2 separate regions of the Homo sapiens genome follow, and region 1 is linked to region 2. Evidence: promoter capture Hi-C in human tissues and cell types (Jung and others, 2019). All regions are on one chromosome and are shown on one strand. The core of a region is centred on a gene start or on the middle of the fragment in contact, and the rest is flanking DNA. Distances in the headings are between cores, read along the strand shown.

Region 1 (2,899 bases), core at 189-2,688, 670 kb after region 2:
GGCGAGCGATGGCCACTCACACTGTTATCCCTTTCTCAGCAATAATGTTTAGGTTCAGGAAAGAGTTCCAAGATATATATAATTCCTCATGCTGAGTAAGGGCTTCAGCCTGACTCCACAGCTGCCCCGGCTACTGCTCTCTCCAGGAATGTTATTACACCAGCACTGGCCCGGTGCTAGAGATGGGGTCTCTCAATGTTCTCATTATGTGCTCCGTATTTTTCAGGTCATGTAATTCAGCTGTAAAAATTTGCCCCTGGCTGCACCTGGCATAGGAGTGGCACAGAGGGGTGAGTTTATTTTTTTAAGGTACTGTTAAAAATAAATTTAATAAGGGAAAGAGAGAGGAAAAGAGAGAGCAAGAGACTAAGACTGTGTTTAATTTGAACTATGAAGGAGAAGATATGAACCGAAGGTCTGAGATCCTGGTGCTTTGGCTGTATGTGTGTCTGTGTGTGTGTGTGTGTGTGTGTGTACGCACGGGAGACTACATGTTTCTCCTGTGTAACTTAAAGCCAGCTTTGTTTATTTAACTGAGATTTTCCAGATCGTTAGTTTGTGATGTGGCTTAGTTTATACTGTGCAATATCCCATTTTAAATACACTCAGGTACATAAGTGAAATGCAACGGAGCTACTTCAATTAGCAAGAGCATGGGCAGCAATTAAGTTTAAATGAACATTTTCATGAGTCTTTTCTTCCCCTTCCTTCTCTTAGCCATGTAATTAATGAGCCTCTGAATGAACCTACTCTCTGTCTATGGGCGTAGAAGATTTTGGCTCTGGAATCCAGGACATATAAATGGAGAGGAACGCAAAGGCCTCCAGGCTGCAAGCTGAGGGGGCAGGTGGCTGCCTTTCCATGTTGCTCTGCGTGGGTAGAAGGAGCCTCTCCCCTTCCAACAGCCTCACCTTAGGAATATAGGATAGGCCATGGGTGACCTTAGTATGTAAACCAAACCCCAGCACTTTTAGAGTTCTGTCCCACTTCTGGCTGAGAGAAGCTGTTTGGGAGATGCCACATTGAATATTGGGCTTTCCAGACTATTTTCAATGACTTATAAGAAAAACTGGGATGTATGAAATTGGCAAGTCCTGGAAAGACTGAGATGGTCCCGGTAATTAGGAGGTGGGGCAGACAAAGGTAGGAGACTGCTACATCAAGTCGTCCCTTTTTCTGCTTGAGCTATGTCACCAGGGTTTTGGGCATGTCTGTGTCACCTGGAATCCAAGTGTGATTGTTTTCATCCAGACATTCTACCAAGTGGAAACCAAGAGTGGAGGCTCAGTCCACAGTAAGAGAAGGCACAGGGCCCTGGACAGAAGGGCCTGGCTTCCAGGGGGATGGGGATCCCCAACGCGGGAGACTCCTTTCCCCTGTGACCAGAAGCTGGGGTCTAAGGACTCCTCCTGCTCAACCACATCCACTGGTCGGGGTCCACCCAGGCCAAGCACAGAGCTGCGGAGGGGCTGAGGTGGCCTCTGCCGGGGAATGGAAAACGGCTCTCTTGGAGGAACTGAAGGAACCCCCACTTCCGTCTTCTGTCCCTGGTGCCTGCATGGCAGGACCCTGGGACCATGAGCTCACAACTCCTCCCCGGGTCACTGTGGTGGACATCAGGATCACCCCTCGGTGCTCAGTGTTTGGATAGGGCACCCTCACGTAGCATCTCCCCCACAGGCCACCCAACCATAGCTAGGACACCTCTCTTTGGCTGGCCATCACCTCCACCCACTCTATTTGACAGTCGGTGGACGCTGTGCCCCCTCAGAAATCAGACCGAGGGGAGCTCAGCGTTCGGCCAGACTCGGGCGCCACCTGGTGTCTGCGGGCGTCCCTGCGGGTAGACTCGAGCCCCAGTTGTTTGCTTCTTTGTTGTTCCTGCTTCTTTTAGACCCAGAAAGGCTCTGTCGCAAGAGGTGGGGTCTGTCTCAATTACAGCGGCTGAGCAGGCACGGGTTGCCTGGGGACATTCCTTGATATTCATGTCACAGGACATGCTGTGCTCTGCACGGGTTTTCACACCTCACCATGAGGTTCTCAGGCCCTCAGTCAGGATTTCAGGGGTTTGTTTTGTTTTTTTAGGTAGGTAGGTAGGTAGATAAGGTAGATAAGAGTTTTGGGGGAAATGGGTTGTTTAGGAGTGAGGCTGGGTTTCTGTCTTATCTCAGCCACTTACCAGCTGTGGGATCATGGGAAAATTACTTTAATCTCTCTGAATTTCAGTTTCTTTATCTGTAAAATAGGAATAACAACACCCACTTCAGAGGGTTATATGAGACTTAAAATAAGTCCTGCCAAGTTCTTGACAACTGAAGGTGTTCAATAAATGTTAGTTCCTTCTTTCCTTAGCAAAGACAGTCATAGATAATAATATAGGTAGTAATTAAAGTTAGTGACACAATGAGAGTAATACTAATTTTTTCTTCCTTCCTCTTCCTTTGTTTTTCTTTCTTCCTTCCTTCCTTCCATCCCTCCCTCCCTTCCTTCCTTCCCTTACTTTCTTTCTTTTTTCTTCTTCTTCTTTTTCTTTCTTTCTTTTTTTTTTTTTTTTTTTTTTTTTTTTTTTTTTTTTTGAGGCAGGATCTTGCTGTGTCACCCAGGCTGGAGTGCAGTGGTGCAGTCTCGGCTCACGACAACCTCTGCCTCCCAGGCTCAAGTGCTTCTCCTGCGTCATCCTCCCACAGGTGCATGCCACCAGGGGTTCACCATGTTGCCCAGGCTGGTCTCGAACTCCTGCGCTCAAGTAATCCTGTCCGCCTCGGCCTCTGAAAGTGCTAGGATTATAGGTGTGAGCCACCGCACCTGGCCAGAGTGATACCAATTTTCTTCGTGTGTGCAGTGACAGGCAGAGCAGCGGCAGGGAGGAGCTCTTCATTCATACTTTCCTCCAGGCCCC
Region 2 (3,246 bases), core at 609-3,108:
TATATTATAACTGAGGGGGCCCACTTACAGCTATTGAGGGAGTCACTAAAGCAATTTTACATTTTTTTTTGTAAAATACAAAGTACATTTCCTCACCCTGTAAGAGAAACCATTTTTTCTCCCTTCAGGTTTAATTATTTCTGTTTGACCTAAACTGAGACTGATCCTCTAGTAGTATCCAGTTAAAATGTGTGAAGTAGGAGGAGTAAAGGAAACTCCAGTCATTAGTTGTAAGTTAAAAGCAGAGTTAATATAGATGTACACAGCAAGAAGGTTTATTTTAATGGATATAAGAAAAATTTTTGAAAACTTGCCTTGTAGTTGGAACATGTTGGAGATCATAAAGAGAATCTTGTAAGTGTGTTTAGATATTTTGCTATAATAACACATCAGCTGATGAATGTTAAAGTCATTTACATATCTGTATCAACAGTAACTTGAAATTAAATATTAAGGGACAAGATTATGCCTACTTCTTTTAAAGTCCAGCATGGTTTAATAGTTGTGGCTTTTAAAAATCATACAGGGTATCCTTATGGAGCTTTATTTTTCATGAGACTAAACAGCAGTTATTCATTTTGGTAGGTCCAAGAATGTGATTAAAAGAATCTTAGACGTTTCAGTGTTTCAGTGTGTTTATAACAAGGTCTATGGATAACAGTGTGTAGATGTAAAATTAAAATTACATAGAAAAATGCAGTTGCATGTAAGTTTTAAAATACTTCCATGAACTTTTTAATATCCTGGGCAACTATAAAGATCTTTTAAAAATGGCTGTGATGTGCTTATCATAATTTTATTTCAGCTGAATGTATACTTATATAAAGTTGTTTAGAAACAAACTTATTTAGATAGGATACAGTTTGAATTTATAAGTAGATTTCTTTTAGTTGAGCTGGTTAAAATGTTAACTGTACTACAGGTTTATTTCTGTGTTATACATGGTAGACCATAATGTTGAGATAATTCTGTGGTCTGTTATTTTGTAAAATTGCTTCCTTTTTGAAGTTTGCTCAAATATTGGGAGCTGCCGGAGTCAATAATTTATAATGCTTTGATTAATTTAGGATCTGACTTTTCTTCTGGTGAGGGTTAATGAGAGTATTAAACTGTTTCTTTTACTGTTTTCATATCCTCACCTCTATAACTCTAGAAAACATTTTGATCAATGTGAGATAATTTAATTTTGTATATTTCAAGTCATTACTTTGAAAATTAGATACATTACAGATACCAAATGCAAATATATACAGAAATTTCATTTTTCAATTCTTAATGCAACAAGATAGCATAATTAGGATCTTTAATATGCTATTTGGAAAAGCTAGCAGTTTATCAAAGAATCATACCTTTATGTTTAACAGGTTCATATCTTACAGGATTTTAAAAATGGTAACACTTACCCCAAAAGAAGTTTTGCTGACATGGTGTCACTGTGCTGAAGAGGCTGTTTGATGCCATAGTCCCTCCTTTTTTTTTCAGATAGAACTTGTACCCTCTGTTGTAAATACTGCTTGCAGCCTTAAACTGAAAATACAAACCATACCCAAACCTTGTTTTAGTTTTACAGTATGCCTGGAGTACATAGACTTTATATTTATTTTTTTCTGTCAAGAAATTATGTAGCTGGTAACATGTGAAAAGCAAAGAAACAAAACAAAAAGAGAATGAGCAAATATTTGAAGGACCTACTATTACTGCATAGACTGTGGTTAGAGAGCACTCACTGACTCTGTTGGTCTCGGTGGCTGGTAGTGACCTGCGGAGATTAACCATTTAAAAACCAGAGACTTCTTGCTGTCCTCCTGGAGAAAGTTTGCACCGCACTTGTGGTTCTGTGGTTGTTTGTGAGGCGAATGAAGCATTCACACAATCCAAAAAAGCAAAAGCTTTAAAACTCCTTTTTTTTGCAAGCACTATTACTGGAGAGGCAGAATCATGTGGTTTGTGACCTCACAGTACTCTTAAGTAAAGTGGGACTGCCTACCACTGTGGCTTTTCCCCCTTGCTCTTTCTCTCTCTCTCTTTCTCTCACAAAAGGCTTGTGGTAAGGCCTTTCCTGGCATCCAGAAGGATATAGCTTTTTAATTTTTGTGACTCATGAGGATTTGGATAGAATACAAATGCTGAAGGAGCCCAAACTCCTGTAAGGTTAAGCATTTGTAGAGCAGAGCTCTGCAGTTAAGGGCTTTCCTTTCTACTCCCCGCTCAACCTCTGCCTTTTTGCCTCCTCTTTTTAGTTCATTATTGTGTCTGTGGAAAAATGAACAAAATTGGCTCAAGAGTCTGTGTGAAATTCTGAACAACAGTGATGATATACAATAATTCACATCTTTGGACTGTATCACATTCTGGGGTCTGCTTCATATTTGCTGGGTGGCTGGATTCCTTCTGTTTTCCTTTTTCTTGTCTTCTTAAACTTGTGAATCTGTAACTCATTGTAAAAAAAAAAAAAGTTTACCTTAAGGTCTGGTTGCAAACTGCTTGCTAGGCTTGACTATAATTGGCTGTCATGAAAGTGTTAGTCTGGGCATTCTTTTACAAATTTTAAATCACGTCTGTCTAGTTTATTATCAATCTATTAGATGGCGGCCTTTACAATAAAGATTAAATGTAATGTTTCATGTATACCATTATCTCATGCCTAGTTTGAAGATCTTAAAAAAATGAATGACAGGGATTGTAATATAGTTTATTGGATGAATCTTAGTTTTCTTTATGATTGTAATATTTTTTGTCTTTCATTGAAGTGTATTCAGTTTATATAGTTCTTTAAGTAGTTTAGACATTAATAGAGTTTCTGATAGCAGATCTTCTATAAAGTAAAATGCTTATGTTATAATGTAGATTGTTCAGTATTTGATTCTATGAGCTTAGAATAGAGTGGGTTAACAGAAGCTATGTATTTTTTTGTTTCTAATGGAAGCTTTGAAATAAATTACAAAATGCTGTGTGTAGTAAGGAATAATGCCCACAGACAGAGTATGTTAGTCGTCTCGATTTGCTAATTCTGATTCAGAAGAAAATTGGAAACATCTTTGGGAAACTATCTCCTTTTTTGCCCCTTTGGACAAGTATGTATAGAACTCATTTTCTTATTAGGATGATTATATATCATAGGCAGTGAATTTTATATTTATGAATAGAGCTTCCTGTTTTCATCAGTTGGGAGCGATGGAGTATTTTTCAACCAAAATTATAAAGGCGAACAGACCAATTTTCTAGGCATTTTTTTGCCATTTATCC

Evidence for each region. Contacts are between HindIII fragments. The study calls those that stand out against the background at their distance.
Region 1: a fragment that was not itself captured here is called in contact with the fragment with the promoter of RUNX2 in region 2 in 1 of the 25 tissues and cell types used here (dorsolateral prefrontal cortex).

Annotation. Positions count from the first base shown.
Region 1 is chr6:44,654,609-44,657,507 of GRCh38, reverse strand. No RefSeq gene overlaps it. Among named protein-coding and RNA genes, the nearest start is that of MIR4642, 220 kb to the right of the region's middle. The HindIII fragment of the contact is 4,670 bases long and covers 1-2,899 here.
Region 2 is chr6:45,326,942-45,330,187 of GRCh38, reverse strand. RUNX2 (RUNX family transcription factor 2) reads right to left here and starts at 1,858. Exons shown (of 9, transcript NM_001024630.4): 1 at 1,728-1,858; 2 at 1,404-1,527. The coding sequence starts at 1,461. All of the region lies in intron 2 of SUPT3H (SPT3 homolog, SAGA and STAGA complex component), which reads left to right. RefSeq lists an enhancer at 2,089-2,129, a promoter at 1,536-2,176 and a cis regulatory region at 3,134-3,140. The HindIII fragment of the contact is 4,056 bases long and covers 1-3,246 here.